3 separate regions of the Homo sapiens genome follow, and regions 1 and 3 are each linked to region 2. Evidence: promoter capture Hi-C in 16 types of primary human blood cells and fetal thymus (Javierre and others, 2016). All regions are on one chromosome and are shown on one strand. Each heading gives the region's core, a stretch centred on a gene start or on the middle of the fragment in contact. The rest is flanking DNA. Distances are from core to core; before and after follow the strand shown.

The links. The method cuts DNA at HindIII sites, captures the fragments that hold promoters and counts their contacts. A CHiCAGO score of 5 or more calls a contact.
Region 1: a contact is called between a fragment that was not itself captured here and the fragment with the promoter of RPS3A in region 2, in 1 of 17 cell types (total B cells). The highest score is 7.3, in total B cells.
Region 3: a contact is called between a fragment that was not itself captured here and the fragment with the promoter of RPS3A in region 2, in 4 of 17 cell types (total B cells, non-activated CD4 T cells, total CD8 T cells and 1 more). The highest score is 6.4, in total B cells.

What each region holds. Positions count from the first base shown.
Region 1 is chr4:147,614,700-147,619,434 of GRCh38, reverse strand. It overlaps TMEM184C (transmembrane protein 184C), which reads right to left and starts at 2,038. Exons shown (of 10, transcript NM_018241.3): 1 at 1,356-2,038. The coding sequence starts at 1,478. It overlaps TMEM184C-DT (TMEM184C divergent transcript), which reads left to right and starts at 2,190. Exons shown (of 2, transcript NR_186679.1): 1 at 2,190-2,347. RefSeq lists enhancers at 1,619-1,668, 1,699-1,818. The HindIII fragment of the contact is 898 bases long and covers 2,345-3,242 here.
Region 2 is chr4:151,097,674-151,102,582 of GRCh38, reverse strand. It overlaps RPS3A (ribosomal protein S3A), which reads right to left and starts at 2,955. Exons shown (of 6, transcript NM_001006.5): 1 at 2,869-2,955; 2 at 1,995-2,098; 3 at 1,421-1,608. The coding sequence starts at 2,930. SNORD73B (small nucleolar RNA, C/D box U73B) reads right to left here and starts at 526; the gene lies at 452-526. RefSeq lists enhancers at 2,032-2,615, 2,636-3,195, 2,616-3,200, 2,499-3,698, 3,976-4,045. The HindIII fragment of the contact is 1,842 bases long and covers 2,467-4,308 here.
Region 3 is chr4:155,373,971-155,378,542 of GRCh38, reverse strand. MAP9 (microtubule associated protein 9) reads left to right here and starts at 1,578. Exons shown (of 14, transcript NM_001039580.2): 1 at 1,578-1,772; 2 at 2,629-2,767; 3 at 3,522-3,606. The coding sequence starts at 2,693. RefSeq lists an enhancer at 1,696-2,125. The HindIII fragment of the contact is 1,550 bases long and covers 2,465-4,014 here.

The DNA of each region.
Region 1 (4,735 bases), core at 1,544-4,043, 3.5 Mb after region 2:
TCACAAGGTCAGGAGTTGAGACCAGCCTGGCCAACACCGTGAAACCCCGTCTGTACTAAAAATACAAAAATTAGTTGGGTGTGGTGGTGGGCACCTGTAATCCCAGCTACTTGGGAGGCTGAGGCAGGAGAATCGCTTGAACCTGGGAGGCAGAGGTTGCAGTGAGCCAAGATCGCGCCACTGCACTCCAGCCAGGGCGACAGAGCTAGACTCTTTCTCAAAAATAAATAAATAAAAATAAACAACAACAACAACAAGTAAGTATATGGGGCTGGGTGCGGTGGCTCACACCTGTAATCCCAGCACTCTGGGAGGCCGAGGACAGATCACCTGAGGTCAGGAGTTTGAGACCAGCCCGACCAACATGGAGAAACCCCGTCGCTACTAAAAATACAAAATTAGCCGGGCGTGATGGCGCATGCCTGTAATCTCAGCTACTCGGGAGGCTGAGGCAGGAGAATCGCTTGAACCCAGGAGGCGGAGGTTGCGGTGAGCCGAGATCTCGCCATTGCACTCCAGCCTGGGCAACAGGAGCAAAACTCCGTCTCATAAACAAACAAACAAAAAACTATATGGACTATGCTAGTATGGGAAAGTCATCAGAAAATAATTTAGTGTAAATAGAGAACACAAATGTATATTAAATACAGTTTATGTAAAAATCATTTCCACAATAAAGAAGGGCCTAAAATAGTCATGGTCTTATTATAGTTCTTGTAATAGGTGTTCCTCTGTAAAAGTACTTGGTGGGTTTTATTAACTCCGAATTTAAAGTTCATTATATAATATTTATATCTGAGTTATTTACCTTGGGGTTTTCCAGCTTGTAGTACATTACTGATGTCACAATAAGCATATGACATCAAAAAATATATATAAGGGACTTTTTGCAAAACCTTTGTTGGGTAAGAGCTAATTTCCACAGTAAAAACAGACACCAAAGTTAAAACAACTAGAACGCTTTGATTCAAGAAGCTAGTTAAAAGCTAATAAAATTCAATACATGGTTTTCAAGGTAGTTTATTTGACCTAGTTTCGTCCAATGTCTGAACAGATCAGATTTCAGCAATAAAATTACCTTACTTTCAGGGAACTGATGAATACTTGCAAAACAGTGCCCTTCTAAGCAGCTATATTAATATATTCTATTTTCTCGACCCGGTCCCACCTCCACCTGTAGCATGACTTGAAGAACCGTGAACAAGAAATTAGACAGGTTTATATCCTAAGAGTAGGCTCGTTTACATTAGATGGTTTTCAGGACTGTCAGGGCAGAAATGGGGTAAGGGTGTCTCTTTCCCAACCATAGATGGGTAGAAGAAAGTGTACAGGCTGATGGTGCAGAACCCTCTTACCTCCAGTTTCTGTAATTCCCACACGCATAGGGGAACCGCAACCACTATTGACACCAGGTAGATGACCGCTACTAAAGGTCGAATCCACTGTCTCCAGTTCCTCCAGGTACAAGTGCAAGGCATGTTTTCGCACAAATCAGATCCGGTTAGCAAGGGAAAAGATCTCGAAAAGATTGTAATGGGGAGCCCTGTTCTCTGGCTGTTTTGTCAACTCGCATACTACGGAGAAAAAGCTGTCGGGCGACTTTACGAACAGCTCGAGCCGCCTCCTGGACCGGCGCTGTGTCTTCTGCTGCTGCTGCTTCTGCAAATGTAGCCTCTCAGGGTGCTATTGGCGAGCAGTGCAGGCAACATCCTTTCTTCTCCACCCCGCATCTACCCGGTTGTACTGCGGTGGAATCCCAGGCAGAGCCGCTGCCCTCACCTGGGGATCGCCCTGAGCTCTGCCTGTACCATGGCTTCCAGGAGAGCAGCACAGACCAGGAACCGGCCTCTAGGGACCCTGCACACTCCGGTTCTGTCTCGCAGCTGCCTGCCCACTCGCTCTTTTCTTTGGGGATCGAGCTTCCTACCTCCCGCACTGGCAGGCGTCTCTTCAGTCGATTCCGCTAGTAGGTAAGGCCCCAGGATCTCCTCATTCTTTCGCACGGGACCTCCCCTACAGCGGAACCCAAGGCCAAACCAAGACTTTCAGCTCTTTTCCGCTTCCGCCCCTGCTGTCTGAGGCAGGTGATTCGTCGTCAGCGCCAAACTGGGCCCGCCCCATCCGACTCACTTTGCGCCCTCTGATTGGTCAGCTGTGGGGGCGGGGCTGCAGGATTGCGTACTGGGGTTAGAAAGAAGAGCAGGTGCGTGGAAGTGGGTGGAATTGCCGCAGATGGTCCAGCGGGCTATTGCAAGGATTCTGGAAGCTGCGGGAATTATTTGAGGACACTTGAAGCACACCTACTACATTCTTCTGCTGGCGTTATTCCAGTTTAAAGAAAGCTTGGGTAAGGGGCGGTTACTTCAGAGTTGGACTGGAAGAGAGAAGGCCCATCTCTACACAAAACATCCCCTATTCAATCTAGAGTGGATACAGAAGCCCGCTGGAGTAAGAAGACAAGGAAGAATGGGAAACCTCCACCTAGTTTTCTGTCAGTTGCTAGAATCTAGGGGCTAGGCCGCTTGGTTATTTCTGGATCCTACAGAAGGATCATTCTAAAGGTAGCTTCATTTTAGAATTAACCGCAAATAGGGAATGTCCCTTCTACATTTGGAACTTGTGTTAAAAATTTGCACTCATTTAAGTTTTAAAAAGTTGACATTCCATCTGACAAAGGAGTTTCATATGCTTAAAGCCTTTAGCTAAACCAATAGAGTAAACAAATATCTACTACTCAATTACATATACAAATGCGTTTTATATTGTAATTGTAATTTTCAGGGGGACAGGCACTGTACTAAGTTCATTACCTACATTATGTAAGTTGTTCTGCACAAAAATTTTGAGAGGTAGGCATTTTTCCACTTTACAGATAAAAAAGTCAAGTGGCTGATAAATTTGCCCAGGCTCACTGAGCTAGTTAAGTGGTAGTGTGGAGATAGCAACCTTGGTCTTTGTGACTCCAAAGGGCATTATATTTAAGCATTTGACCTGCTAGTACCTGCCACCTGGGGAATTTCCGCCTAATGACCATACGGATAAGGAGGCTTGTAACATTGAGTACACCTAGCCCAGGAGTCTCACAGAGACACCTAAGGAATATTATGAGCCCCTTTTTTGGTATCGTCTGTTTGGACTTGACTTCACTGCCTACTTCTCAGTTGTTAACATTTGTATTTTACAACCTGACCCAAACTACTTTCTACCGGAAAAATAGGCCTTATGTTTGTTCTTCCTAAGCTTACTTTAAAAATGGAAATTAAGGCTGGGTGCAGGGGCTCATGCCTGTAATCCCAGCAGTTTGGGAGGCGGAGGTGGGCGGATCATGAGGTCAGGAAATCGAGACTATCCTGGCTAACACAGTGAAACTCCGTCTCTACCAAAAATACAAAAAATTAGCCAGTTGTGGTGGCGGGAGCCTGTAGTCCCAGGTACTCAGGAGGCTGAGGCAGGAGAATGGCGTGAACCCGGGAGGCGGAGCTTGCAGTGAGCCGAGATCAAGCCACTGCACTCCAGCCTGGGCGACAGAGCGAGACTCTGTCTCAAAAAATAAATAAATAAATAAATAAATAAAATTAATTAAAAAAAATTCCTGATCATTAAATTAATGCTTGCTCTGTTGTTAAAGTTCATAAAAAAGAAGAATAATGAAGAGAAAGTTAATTTTACTCTACGGCCAAGTATAACTACTCTTTACTTGTTTGGTACACAGTAGAGGCTATCTTGGATATGCCGTATGCGTAGATTGTCTCTGTGCTTTCAGCTACAGCGTTTTTGCTGCCTATAATCTTTCCCATTCTTTCTCATGGGCAAACTTTTTTTGCCTAATTTGTGAGACCTTCCTTTATTTTTGTTTCCCCATGTATTCTTACAGCATTTATATGGTATTATACTCATTTACTTATTTGTCTTGTTTAGATTTTGAATTCCTAAAGCAAAAATCTAAATCCATTAGAAAAAAGCAAAAGAGAGAAGAGATGAGACAGATGCACAAATGATTTCACATACCAGTTTGCGAACTGGAATTCTTCTATGGTGAAATTTCTTCAGCTCAGCAGAGAAATTAAAAACAAAATTACAGATTGAGTATGCCAAATCTGAAAATCTGAAATTCAGAATGCTCCCAAATCCAAAACTTTTTGAGTACTTATATGATGCTCAAAGGAAATGCTCCTTGAAACACTTCAGATTTTGGATTTTCAGATTTGAGATGCTCAACTGGTATGTATAATGCAAATGTTCCCCAATCTGAAAAAATCTGAAATCCAGAACACTTCTGGTCCAAAGCATTTCAGATGAGATATATGAATTTTTCATTTAGTTAAATTTCTTCACTCTTAAGGACCATGTTTTATTTTGAAATTGTCTATCCTATTTTTTAATATGATAATAGATAGTAGTTGTTCTTCAGATATTTTTACTTTGGAGAATAAAAAGTTGATAGCTTTATTTGCCTACCATTTGTTTCATTTTTTTCTCTTGACCTGTAAGATCCTAAAGTCTAGTAAGGATAGGGAATAGGCCATAATGCTGATGTGATCCTAATCTACTTGCTTTGCTTGCTATAGGCATTCTCTGCATTCTTTCTGGATATGAGAGCCTAAGCCTGAAGGTGGATCTGAGCTTGATGGTGTTTGAAAAATAAGAAATGGTTAAAATTGGCAGATGGTGCTAGGGTCAAAAACAAGCTATTAGTCAATTTTGATGCAAGTTATAGAGGTTAATTGAAGTTTGT
Region 2 (4,909 bases), core at 1,706-4,205:
GCATATACATATACCCCTTTAAACAGCTCATACCCCCTCAAGTGTAAAACTACACCAGAGGAAAATAGGTCTGAGAGGATCCATGGTATTCTATGGTATGAACACATCTACAGTGATTATGTCATTTTTCAAAAAACTGTGTTGTAAATAGGTGACTGCTATAACTCTAAATGCACACTTTGAAAGACGTCTTTTATGTTCCAAACTAAAGCCATGCTGATGATTAAATACCCAATTTCAGAGCTAAAATATAATTAAAAACCCCTAGTTAGTGGTCATATTATTGCCTAAATTGAAAAAACAAAAAACATCTTGGGTAGTGATGAAAACTGATTTACCTTGTTTGCATTTTGTAAATTTTATACCTTAGTATAAAAAAAAACTAATCAAATACAATTTACAGCTAAGGGACCTTAAAATATTTCTAGAAATGTAAACCATAAAGCCTTAGAGGAATGTCAGGATAAATATAATGGTATAATCAGTATGTATCATTTGGGACTGAAACATTTTGTCATCATTCATTCCCACATACAAAATATTCGAACTGTGCCAGGTGCAGTGGCTCACACCTGTAATCCCAGCACTTTGAGAGGCTGAGGCGGGCAGATCACTTGAAGTCAGGAGTTCGAGACCAGCCTGGCCAATATGGTGAAACCCTGTCTCTACTAAAAATACAAAAATTAGCTGGGCGTGGTGGCGGGTGCCTGTAATCCCAGCTACTTGGGAGGCTGAGGCATGAGAATCCCTTGAACCCAGGAGGAGGAGGTTGCAGTGAGCAGAGATGGCGCCACTGCACTCCAGCCCGGACGATAAGAGACTCAATCTCCCAAAAACAAAAAACTCCCACAAAATATTCCAACTGGATAGTTAGCCAGACACATCTGAAATATTTTCATTTCATCCTCACAATTCAATAAAATGACACTCTTATCTGCACTTTACAAATAAAGAAACCGAGGCTTAGAAAACAAGTTACTTTCCAACGAGAACACAATAGGCAAATGGAGCCCAGATTTTAACCTCACTCCAGAGGCTCTGCCACAATTATGCTCTACTGCCACAGTTAATCAACATTCACTCAATTCTGAGGTCAAAAAACATCCTTAAGACAGGCAAAACCGCCCACCTGCACCTAAACGTTCCTCAAAAAACCACTAATCTATGCAGCAAGAAAATCTGACTTTGATGATACACCACTATTAAATCTTAGATTTAAATAGTAAGTAAAATATGGTGTGGCAACCCCAGAGTTAGCACTCAACAACGGCAAGAAAACAAAAATTTAAAATGAACTTTGTGGACATTTCACTGGTCTCAATAAATAAATAAAATGAACTTGCTCCTTCCAGTCATCAAACCATGCTATCCTTGGTCAAACACCCATAGCACAACCACTCTAAGGAACTTTGGGTCTCACCTGCCATTTTTTGACCATGGAACACATTTTGTCACGGGTAAGATCCATGCCATGGAAGTTAGTCAGGCAGTTTTTACCCTGAACATCTTCAGTAATCAGCTTGAATTTTCTAAATGCAACTTCATCATTCTGCAAATCAGCAAGACTCACTTCAAACACACGACCCTTGAGACCATCAGATGCAATTTCTACAAAAGAAAAAAACAAGTATCTTAACATTTAGGAACCATATAAGCAAAGTCAAGCCTGTAAACTGAGGGTAGAAATTAAGTTAATGGTAAATTATAAAGACCTTAACCTTTGTTATCAAATCTATCCAGACACCAGTGACTTATCAACAGTACTTATTTGAAGCTCAGAACTACCCATGGCACATTTTCTTAATTCAAAAAGCACCATCTTGCTTCTCTCCAAGTGCTGTACTAAAAATGATCACCACAGGTGCCAAGGCTGCAACCAAGAGCTGACATTTCCTTAAAGTCTCCCACCACAGGACCAACAACAGACCAAGATGCCTGCTACAATATACAAGCGCCAACTTAAGGAAAATACAAACCAAGAATAAGCTACTTACTGGTTCCTTGGGTCCTGGTGACGAGCGTCTTTCCAATATTTCTTATATTGAACATAGCAGGTGCTTTCACATCATACCAATCTTTCTTAGAAAATGGATCAACCCTGGATTTTAAGAAGATGCTTAAGTTCCATTGCAGATCAATTCTTACTGTATTTTTCACTGTTAATGGTATTTCCCATTAATATTTTAAAAAGCTAACCGGCAATTTGATACCAAAGTATATCTCACAGTGAGGTGAGGGGAACAAACATAAATCTAGCTCTTCCCACTGTACGTTTCACTGCATGCATCAGACTTTGAAAGGTTATGTCCACTTCCCACCCTCATCGGTCCATCCACTACACAGGCACTTAGAATAACATGCATCGGTCCTTCCACTACACAGGCACGAGTAACATGCAATCTCATTAACTTTGCTGGCACGTAATGGCATGTACTGGTAACTAAGAGACTGCATGGCCCCAAAGCTTAGCAGGAGCTCGCAGATTCCAGCGGGACCAAGCAAAGGCGAGATTGACGGGTCCTGAATGGATAGAAGGGTGCTTTCCTCAACTCCTGCTGTCGCAGTGCCATCAAACACTCGCAGAATTGAGGCAGCTCGTGAGCCCACAAAACTAACATTCCAGCCGAGTCGCGCCGGCAAGCCGGCTCAAACGCGACGCGCGCAAGGACCAGAAGGCCTGGGAAAGGCAGCCGACCTGCCGCTACTCAACACCGACCCTCCAGGCCGCGTTCCTGGGTGCACCAACCCGCCACGGCCCGCACAATCCGACTGGAATCCTCGCCATCCGGCCTACGCCGCGATCTAGGACCAGCCCGCCGATTCCAGCAGACCCCCAAAAAGCAAGACGCCACGACAGTCGCGACTTACACTTTCTTCTTGGCTCCCTTTTTGCCGCCTTTCGTAAGGCGCTTGTTCTTGCCAACCGCCATGGTGCTGGTCAGAGAGCCAAAAGGGCGGAAGTGGGAGTCGCGCGAGAACTTAGGCGTACGGGGGCGGGGCGCGCCGTCTACGTGACCTTTGCCCTGTTATTCTTCCGGCCTCAAGAATTCCGGGACAGTAGAGAGCGCCACTCTTTCTACTGTGGTTGCGACATCGCCATCGTGTGTGGGGAGGCCGCGCGGCATGCCGCGGGCTCACTGGAGGCTGCGCTGTGTAGACCAAGGCGTCGGTGGCCTGACGTGCAGGCGTCTGGTTACCTGTGGTTTCTGTGGCTGTGACGTCGGGAAGTAAGTTTCTGTAAAACGAGACGCCCACTCAACATCGTTCAAAGCTGAACTCACCGTCTAACCCCCAAACCTGCTTTTTGAGAGCATTGGCTTTGGAGTCAGTCAGCGGATCTGATTCAAATGCCGGTTTCAACAGGGCTTTGCTTGAGACCGACCTCTCCACGCTTGTTTCCTCATGCGTAATATGGGGGTGATAAAACGGTCGGCTTCATGAGGTTTCATAGGGCTAAATGAGCATCACTCCAGAGATGCTAGCGACGTTCTGCTTGTTGATGTGGATGCTGGTTCATCTCAGGTGTTGTTGCTTTGTGAACATTCACTAAGCTCTACGCTTATTTGTGTCCTTTTCTATATGTCTGTTATATATTGATTAAAAGGTTTTTTTAAAATAGAGTGAGACCGAACTCGTTGGCTCACACCTGTAATCCCAGCACTTTAAGAGGCTGAGGCAGGGGAATCAACTGAAGCCAGGAATTGGAGACTAGCCTGGGCCACACAGCCAGACCCCGTCTTTACAAGAAAATGATAAAATTAGCAGGGCGTTGGCCGGGCGCGGTGGCTCACGCCTGTAATCCCAGCACTTTGGGAGGCTGAGGCGGGCGGATCGCCTGAGCTCAGGAGTTCGAGACCAGCCTGGCCAACATAGTGAAACCCCGTCTCTACTAAACATACAAAAAATTAGCCGGGTGGGTGCCTGTAATCCCAGCTACTCGGGAGGCTGAGGCACGAGAATCTGAGCTCAGGAGGCGGAAGTTGCAGTGAGCCGAGATCGCGCCATTGCCTGGCCAACAAGAGTGAAACTGCGTCAAAAAAAAAAAAGTGAGATCTCCAAATGTTTCCATTTTTGCAACTAATCCAAACCCGCCTCCCCCATTTTTTTTAACTGTAGGGGTTAACAGAGCACATCCTGGCAAGGTGTGGCTGGCTAGCTCAAGTGTGCAGCCCTCGGAAAGCATCTGGCCCATACAGGCTTGGTACTCAGCCAGTGGTGTGTTGAGTTCCCTTCTCTAACTTCCCCTCTGGCAGAAAACCCTGTGACCAAGCCAAAACCAACCCTTACTTACAAGGCCCCCTGCAAGCTTTTAAACTTACAATCCCTTCCAGTCCTGCTAGCCTCCATCCCCTACCTCCCACTACACCCACCCCCCAAGACAACCTTCCTAAACCTCTAGTAGGGTCCTGAAATCTTTCAGTAATTCCATAAATCTCAGTTGCCTGGAGGATAAATTCAAAGTCTTAGTTTCATAATAGTATGAATGTACTTAACACTACTGAACTCTACACTTAAAAAAGGTTAAGGTAGCCCTGCCAGGTGTCTCAGGCCGCTAGTTCCAGGTATTCGGAAGGCAGAGGCAGGAGGATCACTTGAGGCTAGGAGTAGGACTCCAGCCTGGGCAACATAGTGAGACCCCATCTCTTTTTTAAAAAGATGATTAAGATGGTTAATTTGGCCAGGTGGTGGCTCATGCCTGTAATCTCAGCACTTTAAGAGGCCAAGGCAGGAGGTTTTCTTGAGCTCAGGAGTTTGATACCAGCCTGGGCAACATTACAAGACCTAATCTCAACTAAAAATAAAAAAAAATTAGCCCGGCTTGATAGCTCATGCCTGTAGTCCCAACTACTCGGAAGGCTGAGGTAGGAGGATCCCCAGCACTTTGGGAGGCCAAGGCAGATGGATCACT
Region 3 (4,572 bases), core at 1,990-4,489, 4.3 Mb before region 2:
ACCATACCTTGGTGTGATCTCAGGTATTGGATAGGTTGGCTGTAGATATTCAGTGAATGTGGGAGAAGGGCCTATATATCTATTGATGACAGAAACTGAGAAATAGAACATAGAATATTGGCTTGTGAGGAGGAAGGGTTTGGAGTAATAGGAGAGCAGTCACTGAGTATGTGAGGACCTAGGAGAACTTAGAAATCTTCCTTCTACAGCAGTCCCTATTTGAAAAGCCCTCAGGGAGATAGTTTATTCAGAAAATAGTTTTGCTTAGCTAAGATAAGAATGCGATTATAGAGGAAAAAGTGAGAGAATGTTTTACAGTGGAAAGGAGGTTCCAGGAGCATGAGGTGAACCTGGAAGGGTTCAACAGTAGTGCCATGAGTTAATAGAAAATAGGGAGCATTTTCTATTCTGGGTATGTGTGTGTAGAGGTGGTGTACATTTTCAGCTTCATAAATGGATACAGATGAGTGGACATATATATATAATATATTATATAATATATATTATATATATAATATATTATATAATATATATAATATAATATATATATACTATTAGTTCTGTCCATCTAGAGAACCCTGATTAATACAGCATTGTATTTTACTAAATTTCTTATTTCTTGTTATGCACATTTAGTTTTTCAATACATTGATTTATTAAATTTCTATCTCAATGTGATTTGTTTATACAAAATTGAATTAGTGAAATATTAACATATTTTAGAGATGTGGAAAAAATACCAGGTATGAGTTTAATTACTAGTCAATGAATTCATTCAGATAATTCAACTAGGATTAAGCTTTTTAAAAATTAAAAATAGTAAAAATTCATATTATTTTAAAGACTTTCAATAAACGTTTTTGGTTTTTATTTGCTTTAAGAATTTCCTATGCGAATTAAATGATGTTGATTTTGTTTACTTTAGTAGCACATGCTCTTTTAGCCTAGTGGATCATTTTGTTTGGTTTGATTGGAATAAGATTACTCACTAAGTATACAAAGAGGGGGAGTTTTACATTCAAGTAAGATGTCAAATGGGCTTTCAGTTGTGTCCACAAGAGCTGAGGTCTCTCCAGGCCCTTTGCGGCTTAGTTGCATGAAGAGCATATCTAATATCGAATACAATTCCAGGCACTCTTCCAAGTGTTCCACTTGTATTATTTCATTCAATTTTACAGCAACCTTTCAGGTGTCTATTATTAGTACACTTTTGTTTTCCCCCAGAAGAAGAAACTGAGTCATAAAGACCTTAACTTGGGACAATCACGTGTGTAGGAAAGGGGTACCAGGATTCAAACCTGCAGTCGGAAACAGGGTTCTGCAAACTCACTACCGTACTATTCTGTCCCATCCACTGACACCGTACTTCGATTCAGAGAACTTCACGTCCTAACTGTGGCAAAACGACGAATGTGCTTTATTTGCAACACGTGCAGATAAGGACCCTTACTCTATTGGCAAGAGTAAGGCTATCTGGGTGGGAGTTGGGCGGGTCCTGTCTCCTAGGCAACAGCACATGCACACAAGCGACCAATAATGAGCCCCTCTCCAAAGACCCAGGAAGGTGATGTCACTTCCTTCGTCTGGGTGGTTGCCCCAGCGACACGTTGGGCCGAAGAGCGGTGTTGGGTACCCGAGAGACCCGGCGGTGGGGAAGTCACTTCCTCCCGAAGACGCTGTTTCCTAGCAACCGCCCTCCGCCTCTGTTATTAGCCCCTCCTCCTCGCTCGGTCCAGGACCGGCTCTGCGGGCGCCGCCAGGCCCAGACCAAGGTGAGCAGCTCCTACCCGATGCTTGGCTCTTGATTCTCAGGGTCGCGGAGAACTGGCCGCGGGCGTCCGGGGCCGGGAACAGAAAGCGGGACCTGGGGGCCATGGGGGATCCGGACAGAGACCGCGCTTGGACGTGCACGGGCCTGGCGTTCGCTGGTGCTCAGCATACGGCGCGGTGAGGAGCGGCGAGCACCCGGACGTCACCTGGCCTGGTAGGGAACGGAACCCGGGGCGCACAACGCTATGGGCGGCCCTGCCAGGCCTCTGCTCCGAGTACGGGAAACCGCGATTTTAATGCGGCTCATCGCGAAAGCTTCGTCGTTTTGTCTGGCTCTCTTTAACACTTTTGTGAGAGGAAAAATTGGCTTGCAATACATCTCGCTGGCTGTTTGCGGGTTAGCATTACGATCTTTTTCTTTGAATAGCGCTGTATGCAAATATATAGATACATTTTTTTTTTGGTGGTGGTGCTCATAATTTTTACGCCGACGATCCTTTTGATGGCCTTTTAAATAAGACGTGACTTATTTTGAAGGCAATGTTATACTTTAGAAGAGAGGTGAAAAATAAGGTGTTCTATTTTAATTGGCAGCATTTTGTCGTATTAACTTGTAATCATTTATTTGCAGACTTTTTAAGTAGTTGCAAAACTATTTTAGGATAACTTCCATTTGAATTTTTTTAAACAAGCTTGTTATGAGAATTTGCTATTTCTTTACAAGAACCTTTTTAAGTGAAGATGTAGCCCAATGTTCATATCAGATGCTTTTCTTTGACCTTTGTGGGGAGAGTAGAATCAAATGTAATAAAATAAATTCTGAAGCATGCGAAGTCTGATTTGTTTTGTATATTTCAGCTACTATCAGAAGTTGAATTCTAATAATTAGCTATTTTATAAAGGTAACGAGAAAAAATACACTATGTCTGATGAAGTTTTTAGCACCACTTTGGCATATACAAAGAGTCCAAAAGTTACCAAAAGAACTACTTTCCAGGTAAAGTATTTTTATTTGGAATCATTTCACAGTGTAAACACTGTATTAGATGGGTTGAAATTGGTGATTCTAGAACAGTCCTATATAAAGCAGGGGTAAATCTTATATTACTTTTGAGGTTTTGCACATGATCATGTTTGGGCTCCATCCAGTATTACAAACTCCCCTATATGGTTTTAAGACTACCAAAGTAGCCTCAATACTAGTTTCCTACTAAGTTAAAAGTTGAATCGCAACCTTAAATTGCCATTTTTATATAAAAACTTTTTTTTCTGTTGTAACATAATGTTTAAGTTTTTTTTTCTGTTGAGTCACTGCAATTTTGAACTCAGCCTCTAAGTTTGCAATATTGATTGCATCCATTTCTGAAATATGCCGAGACAAAAGCTCTTAAAAATACCAATTTCTTTCAAAATACCAGTTTTTAATAAATTATAATCTAAATTGAGCCCCTTCTTATTTGTTACCCTCCAGCTCTAATTATAACCTGCAATTAATTTGTTCCATAATGTGTGTCTCCTCTAGTTAAACTGCGAGCTCCATGAGGAAGGGCTCTTGTCTGTGATGCTCTGCATTGAGTATGAGGCGTAAAGTGGGTACATGGCATAAAGTGAGCTTGCAGGAAATATTTGTTAGATGAATGAAACCTAAGTTTGAAAGCAGTCGTTAATCAAGCATTGTTTGTTTAAAGAATTACTTGTGAATATGATACCTCCATGTTTGGATGGAAATTGATTTCAGTATCTCATTTCAGGATGAGCTAATAAGAGCAATTACAGCTCGCTCAGCCAGACAAAGGAGTTCTGAATACTCAGATGACTTTGACAGTGATGAGATTGGTATGTGACAGTATGGAAACGTGAACCACTTTTCTTCTTTTTGCTTCCTTAGTTTTGTATTTAGCCAGCCCCCCAACCACCCATCCCCTCAATCACGTATGTTAAAATAATACCTAAGCATTCACTAATTTTAGATTTTCAACTTTTTAATTAGTAGAAAGCCACTCTTAATTTTCAGGAAGTTGTATGATTTTCTTTTTTTATTGTTGTTTTGTTTTCTGAATGTGTATACGAAAATATAAATTAATTGATGGCAGGTTTGCAGTAAAAGGATGGCTGCCAGTGGTAAACCACATTGAAGAAGACAGGTTCATCTTTAAGATCAACCCTAGGAGGTGCTACAGCTAGTTAGTAACTAGTCCCACAGAACTAAACTTCGGTGCACATTAGAAGTGCTTTTATAAAGCTTGCTATAAATCAGATTTTTTTTGGCTGTGATAAGGGGTAAATTTAAAAACCACAGACTCTTCGTGTTTCATATATCAGTACTATTATAATTTGGTTTCTCTTAGCTATGTAAACATATTAACATTTTAGTTTCAGGTATAAGCATACAGAATTCTAAACTTGGTGTTTTTGTTTGTTTGTTTTTGTTTTTGAGATGGAGTCTCGCTCAGTTGCTCAAGCTGGAGTGCAGTGGTGCAATCTCGGCTCACTGCAACCTCCACCTCCCAGGTTCAAGTGATTCTCCTCCTTCAGCCTCCTGAGTAGCTGGGACTACAGGTGCCCGCCACCATGCCCGGCTAATTTTTGTATTTTTAGTAGAGATGGGGTTTCACCACATCGGCCAGGCTGGTCTCGAACTCCTGACCTTGTGATCCGCCCGCCTCAGCCTCCCAAAGTGCTGGGATTATAGGTGTGAGCCACCGCACCCGGCCTGGTGTTTTATTCTTTAAAATTTGGTGAATAATTGTAATTGATTTCTGTAAAACCAGTAATAACCACAGTTAAATCACTGCTGTATAG